Regions from separate parts of the Homo sapiens genome. Here region 2 is linked to region 1. Evidence: promoter capture Hi-C in 16 types of primary human blood cells and fetal thymus (Javierre and others, 2016). All regions are on one chromosome and are shown on one strand. The core of a region is centred on a gene start or on the middle of the fragment in contact, and the rest is flanking DNA. Distances in the headings are between cores, read along the strand shown. Region 1 holds the start of TDP2 (tyrosyl-DNA phosphodiesterase 2). Region 2 holds the start of H2BC12 (H2B clustered histone 12).

The links. The method cuts DNA at HindIII sites, captures the fragments that hold promoters and counts their contacts. A CHiCAGO score of 5 or more calls a contact.
Region 2: the fragment with the promoter of H2BC12 here is called in contact with the fragment with the promoter of TDP2 in region 1 in 1 of 17 cell types (M0 macrophages); the score reaches 5.5 in M0 macrophages.

Annotation. Positions count from the first base shown.
Region 1 is chr6:24,664,145-24,669,100 of GRCh38, reverse strand. TDP2 (tyrosyl-DNA phosphodiesterase 2) reads left to right here and starts at 2,202. Exons shown (of 7, transcript NM_016614.3): 1 at 2,202-2,403; 2 at 2,490-2,575. The coding sequence starts at 2,239. It overlaps ACOT13 (acyl-CoA thioesterase 13), which reads right to left and starts at 2,024. Exons shown (of 3, transcript NM_018473.4): 1 at 1,757-2,024. The coding sequence starts at 1,837. RefSeq lists enhancers at 1,986-2,280, 1,812-2,483, 2,484-3,156. The HindIII fragment of the contact is 8,130 bases long and covers 1-3,294 here.
Region 2 is chr6:27,144,804-27,149,813 of GRCh38, reverse strand. H2BC12 (H2B clustered histone 12) reads left to right here and starts at 2,959. Exons shown (of 1, transcript NM_001312653.2): 1 at 2,959-3,453. The coding sequence starts at 3,016. The coding sequence ends at 3,396. H2AC12 (H2A clustered histone 12) reads right to left here and starts at 2,708. Exons shown (of 1, transcript NM_080596.3): 1 at 2,252-2,708. The coding sequence starts at 2,685. The coding sequence ends at 2,299. It overlaps MIR3143 (microRNA 3143), which reads right to left and starts at 2,188; the gene lies at 2,126-2,188. RefSeq lists a silencer at 493-542 and enhancers at 2,322-2,571, 2,902-3,361, 2,616-3,532, 3,952-4,061. The HindIII fragment of the contact is 2,078 bases long and covers 2,069-4,146 here.

The DNA of each region.
Region 1 (4,956 bases), core at 953-3,452:
TTGGGGTTCACAAGGTTTAGTTATAAATGCTTCTTATGGAGCATGATTTTCTTACAAGCGAGGCAGGAGAATCGGATCTGGAGGCAGGGAACCTAGGGCTGTTTCACGCTGACTTCCTAGAACTAAATTGAAAGTAAAACCCTAACTTCCCACACCAAGTAACAAAAGAACCAGAGGCTTCTCCCTTTCCAAACCCCCACCTTTTCTGTGTGGCAGATGGGAAATTGAAAGTACCTCTGATTGGTTGCAAAAAGCAAAATTACGCTAAGAAGTAAGTTATCCCTTAAAAAAAATTATTCTTTCTGCAACCAATCAGATCTTCCCATAGGAGTGTAACTATGTAACTTCACCATCTGATTGCACGCCACGTCTTCGTTTGCATATAAGGGCAACTTTGTAACTTCACTTTAGCCTTTCATTGGTTGCTTTTCACAGCCAATTGTGGGTCACCACTTCATTTACATGAGATGAGTACCAAGTGGCCAATAGGAGACTTCAATGGGGTATTAGGGCCCCTGAGCTGCTGCTCCACACCCCAAACACAGGAGTGTCCTTTCATTTTCAGTAAATCCCTGCTTTTGGCGGGGCATGGTGGCTCATGCCTGTAATCCCAGCACTTCGGGAGGCCAAGGCAGGTGGATCACCTGAGGTCAGCAGTTTGAGACCAGCCTGACCAACATGATGAAACCCTGTCTCTAATAAAAATAAAGAATTAGCCAGGCTTGGTGGCGCATGCCTGTAATCATCCCAGCTACTTGGAAGGCTGAGGCATGAGAATCACTTGAACCCAGGAGGCGGAGGTTGCAGTGAGCCGAGATCGTGTCACTGCACTCCCGCATGGGCAACAGAGCAAGACTCCATCTCAAAACAACAACAACAACAAACACCTTCAAGGTCTGGCGTGGCGGCTCACACCAGTAATCCCAGCACTTTGGGAGGCGGAGGCAGGCGTTTCACCTGAGGTCGGGAGTTCGAGAGCAGCCTGACCAACATGGAGAAACCCTGTCTCTACTAAAAGTACAATATTAGCTGGGCATGGTGGCGCATGCCTGTAATCCCAGCCACTCGGGAGGCTGAGTGAGGCAGGAGAATTGTTTGAACCAGGGAGGTGGAGGTTGCAGTGAGCCGAGATCGCGCCATTGCACTCCAGCCTAGGCAACAAGGGCGAAACCTCATCCTAAAAAAACAAAAACAAACAAACACCTTCGGGCTTTGTGAGTGCTGGTCTCAGAAAAGCACTCAGTCTTCCTCCAAGGGCTAACTTACTTCTTCAGGAGTTGGGTGCCTTTGAGAAATTTCCCAAACCACTACAGAGGAACAACTTCTCCCTTCGTTCACCACTCTACCAAGCACTTGGCTTTTGTACCTTATTGCAATTATTTATCTTCTAATCTTCTAGAGCCTAGAGAATTAGACTGTAATGTGCCTTAAATGCAGAGGTTTCTCTTACTCTTCTCTGGAGCAATGCAGACGTTTGTTGGTTGAAGGATCAAACTCCAAAGTCCCTCCCAGCCTTGGAACTGTCTCCACGAGTCATAACCATACTTATCTATGTTTAGATAGAGAACTTACGCGTTCGACCCAGCATATTTAGGGGCTCCATTAAAGTAATAATCATTATTACTAAGGTGAATTTACAGGCGTACTAGAACACAACCTAACAAGAGATAATTATTCAAAGCTCACAACGGCACCAAGCACGGTGCTTTCTTTTCCTTCATTAGAAGCCACGGCTTCTCCCCTACCTTTCCCATACCTTTCCCAAAACTCTCTCAAAATTGCGAGCCTTGGTCATGGCCTTTATCACCTCCCGCAGAGACTGAGTCATGCTGGTCATCGTGGACGGTTTTCCAGCCTTTGGGCTTTGCGCAAGAACGAACTTCGGAAGAGCTGGAAAGTCCAGAAGTTAGTGAAAGAAGGAGGACACAAAGGGCGAAGAGCCCGCACCCTTCTCCGCCCCTAGGAGCGCAAGAGGCCGGGAGTCAGGCGAGCTGGCAGCCCCGGTGGTCCGCGATTTGCTCACTGACTTTCCTCGCACCCTTGTGACGAAGCGCGCATGCGCGCTTCGCACCCACCGCCCCGGCGGCTCCCTTGCGGCGCAGCTGCACCAGTTTTCCGAGAGCAGCGCATTTCCCCGCCGGGCGGTTGATGCGGGAGCGCCATGACACAGGCGCCTGCGCAGAGCCGCGCGTTGGCCTCCTGTTCCGCTTAAAGGGGCGGTGCAGAGGCGGCAGGAAGATGGAGTTGGGGAGTTGCCTGGAGGGCGGGAGGGAGGCGGCGGAGGAAGAGGGCGAGCCTGAGGTGAAAAAGCGGCGACTTCTGTGTGTGGAGTTTGCCTCGGTCGCAAGCTGCGATGCCGCAGTGGCTCAGTGCTTCCTGGCCGAGAACGACTGGGAGATGGAAGTACGCTTTCGCTGTCCTCGCTTCCGGCTCCATTACCTAGGTCGGTGGAGCGCACAAACCTCATCCCTTGTGCCTTTGTTTTTCAGAGGGCTCTGAACTCCTACTTCGAGCCTCCGGTGGAGGAGAGCGCCTTGGAACGCCGACCTGAAACCATCTCTGAGCCCAAGACCTAGTAAGTGATGAGGGGAGCGGGAGCCAGTCCGCACGGAGGCAGTTTGATACCAGGTAGCCCTGCGCGTCCTGGGACCTGCCGTGGAGCTGGGCGGACGATGCTGAGGCAGATCTCCAAGCTGCGTAGCCAGAGGAGCAGGGCTTGCGTTGCTGCTGCTGCGCGGAGTTGCGCCCCAGCAGCGGATCTAACACTGCACCAGACTGTCGCTTCGAACGTGATTTGGGGTCCAGGGAGGAAAAGATGGAAATGTAATGTTTAACTCAAATGAAAGGAAATAAGTAAGCGAGAGGTTTGAAACAAATGAACGAAGGCTAAACCTTCTATCGAAAAATGGCAACTTGGAAGTCTCCTTGCTTCCTGTATTGTTTATTTATTCTAGGCCCTAGGCTGACCGGCCAGAATAACAGGTTTGTTGTTGTTGTTATTTTTTTTTAATGCACACCTACTCCTGTTATTTCAGTGCCCCTCTCCAGTTCCTGCACTTAAAAAGTGTAGCTGCCTTACAAGGCCCTCTACTATTTGGCTCCATAACTTAGAACCTGCCTTTCCAGGTTCCAGGCCTATCAAACTTTTACTTTTTTCCAACGGGTCATTTTCTCCTGTCTTTGAAACTTCGTAAAGATCTTTATTACCTGTGCCTGGAATTTTTTTCTTTTCCCTTCCTTGCTAATATTTGTCTTAAAGCCCCAAGCTGAGACATGATTTATCTCTAGGAAGCTTTTCCTGATGTCCTAAGTCTGGGTAAGAGTCCCCTTTTAGGTACTCTTATAGCATCCTGCATGACCCCTGTTACAATACCTTAGTCCGTATTATAATTGCTGTTCATTATTTTATGTCTCCTACTAGACTGCACATCTAGTAAGGAGTATCTGTTTTGTACATTGTTAATTTCCCAAAGTCTGACACAACATTTGACACATAATAAGCTCCCAATAAATATTTACTGAATGTATAAAATTCTCCCAGCTATATGTACAACCTGTAAAATTGACTGTTCATAGTGGAGACTTTATTTTCCCTTTGGTCTTTTCAGCTACACTGGCTTACAGATGTGATAAGATATTTTCTTTAGGTTCCTTTCTCTGTCTTGCCTCTTGTTGGGGAATTGTTTACTCACCCACAGTGATTTGTCTCTGGCTCCCGTTTTACTAACCAGAGCAAGTTGGACTAGGAGGTGTTTGCCTAGCTCAAACTGGCCAGTCAGATCCTCTCCTTGGTTTCAGAATTAGGACCAAGAGAGTCAAGTCTGAGTCTTCCTATGGAGCTGGAACTGTAACATGTTAACTTAGCACCTGTGAGGATTCATACATATCTTTTTTTGTGTACAGAGAAGCTGAGAACAGAGGTCTGCAGAGAGACAATGAAGCAGAGGGAAGTTGAAGTGTAGGATTGAGAGAAAGCCCTTAACTGCCCTTCCTTAAACATGGCTGTATTTCTGTACCAGGCTCTGTGACATGTTTGTTTCCTTATAAATTCTCCTGTTTTGGTCAAACCAACCTGAGTTAATGTCTGTTGGTTGCAACAGACTATATTGTAACCAATAAATAGTAACAAAATAAGTGGATTTCCTGTAATAGGCCCTCAGAAAAGATGCGGATCAAGCTGATCAATGGTGTCATGGCTATTAGGATTCTCTTACCCCGGAATGGTAAATTGGCAAAAACAAGCAAAGGTGTTGATTAGGCTGTGGTCTCTTGTCTCTCAGAACTCAGGTCAAGTATGAATGAGAGTGAGGTTTTAAAGTTTAGTTTGCTCAAGAGAGAAAAATGGGGAAGGGGCAAACTTCAGCGTGTTTCTAAGGCCTGTGACCTGATTAGATTTTTGATGTTGGCTTTAGCAAAAATGAAAGGGAAAAAAAAATTGATTGGAAGATTTTATGACCAGAAAAACTCAACCCTGCTGAGCAAGGGCATTGGCTGTCTTAAATGAATGGCGCAGGAATCTCAATTCTGGAGTGAATTCCTGGGATATCAACAAAAATTGAAATTGAACACTAAAGTGATTTAGTCCCCTACATTAGAATCTATCTTCAGTGTCTCTGATGAGAGACAAGGGAAATCCTCTTAAAACAGCTATGCTGAATCTTAGCTGCATATTGGAATTATCTGGGGAATTTAAAAAAAAAACCAGAGATTCTAATTTCATTAGTCTTGAGTGGGGCCCATTATTCCTTATTGGCTTTTTTTTTTTTTTTTATTAGCTGTGCAGGTAATTCTAATGCAGAGCCAGCATTGAAAGCCCGTGTCCCAGAGCCTTGTTATTTAGAGTGTGGACTCTGGACCAGCAGCGTGCCACTGCTACTCGGGAATTTGTTAGACATGCAGAATCTTAGGTCTCACCCAGACCTACTGAATCAGAATCTGTATTTTGACAAGATCTCC
Region 2 (5,010 bases), core at 1,710-4,209, 2.5 Mb before region 1:
ATGGTGAAACCTTGACTCTACTAAAATTACAAAATTAGCCGGGAGTGGTGGCACACACCAGTAATCCCAGCTACTCAGGAGGCTGAAGCAGGAGAATCGCTTGAATCTGGGAGGTGGAGGTTGCAGTGAGCCGAGATCAGGCCATTGCACTCCAGCCTGGGCAAGAAGAGCAAAACTTCATCTCAAAAAAAAAAAAAAGAAAAAGAAAAAAAGTCAAAGAGCAATACCAGCTATGCACTTATGCATGCTAAAGTCAGTCTCACAGATACTATCATAGACCTTACTTAACATTGATATTTATATTCATGTTAATATATGTCATAGACATGGAAATACACTGCCCAGATCCTCCTTCAAGGAAGGGCTTGCAGCCCAACTGCAGAGAGCACAGTTAGCAGATAGACACCAGCTGTTAGCTTCCTCAGTGTTTGCCTCAGCTGCAGAGCTCCTCCCCACTCAAGGCTGCATCCTTCCCCGGGCAGTCCTCATTCAGTGACCCACAGAGGAGTTAAAAAGGGTGGTCTAGAGCCCCTTTGGCCCAATGTGGGGGCAACTTGACAGGCATACTGGCTCCAGAGCTCTCCACTGGGTTGGTTGAGCATTTGTCTGGCCTGTATCATAGTTTGACATTTTCCTTTGCCCAATCCTATTTCCTTCACCCCTTCACAGATATTGAGCCCTAATAAACATTTTGCATCCCAAACTCCATCTCAGCATCTGTTTATCGAGAACTCATATGTCACTACATTATAATTTCTCGTTCTGCATCTCTTGCATTTCTTTTTCAATTGGGCTTCTGCATGCAAAGACTGGGAGTAGCAAACAAATCTATGTGTATTGAATTACAAACTATGTCCTCTTAAATCTTTGTGAAATACATAAAGTTAATACTATTTTTTGGTGTCTTTTTTAAGTGGCTTGAATTCCGTAGAGAAAAAATAAAGATGTATACATGTAATATTTCAATTAATATATATCCTATCCCCATAGGCATAGAGAGCGTAATGGGGCCCTCCATTTTAGAGAGGAGATAAACAAAGATGACCTCTTTATAGGTGTTACTTGATCAGAGACCTACATAGATTGAAAAAAAGTGAGAAAGGTAGTTATCAGGGGAAGAGGGAATTTAAAGTGCAAAGGCCTTAAGACAGAAAATGTGTTTGGCATTTTGTGGGAATAGCCAGAAAGCCTTGAGGCTATGAAGTAAAAGCAGGCCAAGTAATATCAAGAGGGGGTGGGGCGGAGGAAGGAAACTCATAGGGCTTCCTAGGGTAGGTAAATTAATGTGGACAAGCAATCAAAAGCAATAGCAATCCCGATCTAATAAATTTGATAATACAAATTAGCTAGACAGAAAAAGCTATGTTGTATCCTAAGCTACTACAAGAGTGCATTAATACACCTGCTCCAAAGAAATGGGACTAAGGATTTACAAATATGGGATTCAGGAAATTCTGCATCCCATATTCTCCTTCCATCGGAATCAAATTCTAATGCAAATGAGTCACTAGACTTTCATCACCTGGGTAAAGTTACTCTTAAGAGTTAGACCACTTAAGAATCAGGCTGCCCTTTCTTGCTTTTCAAGAATACTTAGAATTGCAAAATTTGCCTTTAAAGAATGGCAAGTATATCCCATTTTTATGGCTGTTTGACAACACTATTAATGTAATAGAATTATTACACTGGAGGCCGGGCGCTGTGGCTCACGCCTGTAATCCCAGCACTTTGGGAGGCCGAGGCGGGCGGATCACCTGAGGTCAGGAGTTCGAGACCAGCCTGGCCACCATGGTGGAACCCCGTCTCCACTAAAAATACAAAAAAACTAGCCGGTCGTGGTGGTGTGTGCCTGTAATCCCAGCTATTCGGGAGGCCGAGACAGGAGAATCGCTTGAACCTGGGAGGTGGAGGTTGCAGTGAGCCGAGATCGCGCCGCGCCACTGCACTCCAGCCTGTTGGAGACTCCATCTCAAAAAAAAAAAAAAAAAAAAAAAAACCACTGGAATTAGTAAATAGATTTCAGGGATTTGTACGTTTGATTTCACTTATTACCCCTGCTGAATAAGCTTCTCCGGAGTATCCTACAACAACTTTTGGGTCTTCATTGCTTTCCAGTGGGTTAATTTAGAAACATTGTAAAGAGTTGCTCCAGCCCAACCGCGAAAGAAGCGCTTTACAATGTTATCTAGCGAAGCAAACATGAAGTGAAACAAACATGACTGTGTCCAGCTTTCTCTAAGACAGTGTAGAATGGCTCTGAAAAGAGCCTTTGTTTTCCAGTTTTCACAACCTCGCTCCTTATTTGGCCTTATGGTGGCTCTCAGTCTTCTTAGGCAGCAGCACGGCCTGGATATTGGGCAAGACACCACCCTGCGCGATGGTGACTTTGCCCAGCAGCTTGTTGAGCTCCTCGTCGTTGCGGATGGCCAGTTGGAGGTGACGCGGGATGATACGGGTCTTCTTGTTGTCGCGGGCCGCATTGCCAGCCAGCTCCAGGATCTCAGCGGTCAGGTACTCCAGCACCGCAGCCAGGTACACTGGCGCGCCGGCTCCAACCCGCTCGGCATAATTACCCTTGCGGAGCAGGCGGTGCACTCGGCCCACGGGGAACTGAAGCCCAGCCCGAGAAGAGCGGGTCTTGGCCTTGGCGCGAGCTTTACCGCCTTGCTTGCCACGTCCAGACATACTGGTCACAACTTACTGAAAGTAGCCAACGAGGAAAGGCAGCGCCTTTTATAAACACTATTGGGCGCGAAAAAGAAGATATGTCATTGGTTAGGGTTGTAGCTTAGTTTTAACCAATGGAAGTACGTCTTTTGGATTTGCAGATTGGGTTGATTGGGTATAACTAACCTCTGACGTCACCCTAATAACCACCAATCAGATACAGGACTTTCACTCTTCACCTTATTTGCATGAGAGGTCCTATATAAAAACGACTCCTGGTACCTTGCTCCCATTACTTCCCGTTTTCTCGATCTGCTGCTCGTCTCAGGCTCGTAGTTCGCCTTCAACATGCCGGAACCAGCGAAGTCCGCTCCCGCGCCCAAGAAGGGCTCGAAGAAAGCCGTGACTAAGGCGCAGAAGAAGGACGGCAAGAAGCGCAAGCGCAGCCGCAAGGAGAGCTACTCCGTATACGTGTACAAGGTGCTGAAGCAGGTCCACCCCGACACCGGCATCTCCTCTAAGGCCATGGGAATCATGAACTCCTTCGTCAACGACATCTTCGAACGCATCGCGGGTGAGGCTTCCCGCCTGGCGCATTACAACAAGCGCTCGACCATCACCTCCAGGGAGATCCAGACGGCCGTGCGCCTGCTGCTGCCCGGGGAGTTGGCCAAGCACGCCGTGTCCGAGGGCACCAAGGCCGTCACCAAGTACACCAGCGCTAAGTAAACTTGCCAAGTAAGCGTCTTAAAGCCCAACCCCAAAGGCTCTTTTAAGAGCCACTTAAATTATCGATATTAGAGCTGTAAACACGTGTTCCTAATCCAGGCTTAAATTCGGGCGATCTTTTTAAAGGGATTATCATGATCTTATCACACTGAGTAATGCATGCAGTGCTTGTAATCGAGTCTGGCTAAGGAGAAGCCACATACACTTTGTTAGTACTGAGTGAGGAATATGGCGCCTAAAAAATTAGGGATGTGCAGGAAACTTGTGTTAACAGAAAGTGCTTCCTGGCTCTTGGCGCGAAAATGGATACTTCCGTTGTGTCGAGTGCTGTGACTTCCTGTTAGAACTTGTTGAAAGCCTATTGTGTCACGTGTACTTTCCACCATGTAATGGCGTTCTAACGTGAGTTTATATATTAGTAAATTTGGTTCCCGATGGCGTTCCAGTACGTATGGCTTTCGCTCGAGCAGTTACCTTATTTAACCTCTTCTAGGCTGTACCCAGCTCTGCCTTGCTTTGCTTCCCCCTCACCCCCTGATTCCATCTCTGCAGCCCACGGGACATCGGGAAGATGCCAGACCACCAGGCAGGATAGTCTGCAAGGGTAAGGGGAGGAGCACAGCTTTTCTCAGGAGTGAAGAAACGGAACATGAAATCATCACGGAGATTTTTGGAATAGTTTACTAGTTTTTAAGGCATGTTCAGCGTCAATTGGTCCAATCAGTAATTTTTCCTTTTGACAAGAAAGCTTATAGAAAAGGAAAATGAAAAGCAAGTAGATTCAGAGGGGAGACAACAGACAGACTAGAGACAGTCCGCCCCGAAGCAAGAAGTTGGAGTAGAGGAGAAGGGAACTTCCCCAGCAGCACAGGGTTTGAGCTAAGTGTTAGGTGGTGGGTTAGAATTAGGTGGTGGGTTTTATTGTGTGATTAGAGGCTAGAATGACTATGCCGGTGATGAGCAGTGTGAAACTTTTTTGGAAGAACCAAGTGAAAGAAAGAGTCCACGAATTTTAAGCTAGGTTGTTACCTGGCTAAATTTGTGATTTAGAAATGTAGGCCAGTTTCACAGGGGAATTTTGTGTGTGTGTGTGTGTGTGTGTGTGTGTGTGTGTGTGTGTGTATTTAACATATTTGGCCACGCATTGTTCTAGTCTTTGGGGATATTGCCCGCCCTTAGGCATTTGGAGATTAGCAGGGTCATATTGAAAAACTTCATACATGCAAAGCATATGTTCACTGTTGATCCAAGTCTTATTTATCCTACCAGTAATTTTGGGGTTACATTAATATTCTAAGAAATGTATCAACAAATAATTATATTTATTGTTTACCTATATAGGAGGCACTGATCTATATCTATACCTATATAGGAGGGCAGATCACTTGAAGTCAGGAATTCAAAACCAGCATGGCTAACATAGTGTGAAACCCCGTCTCTACTAACAGTACAAAAATTAGGGGGGGCGTGGTAGCATGTGCCCGTAGTCCCAGCTACTCGGGAGGCTGAGGCAGAATTGCTGGAAGCCAGGAGGCAAAGGTTGCAGTGAGCCTAGATCACCTCACTGCACTCCAGCCTGGGCAACAGAGCAAAACTCCGTCGCAAATAAAATTA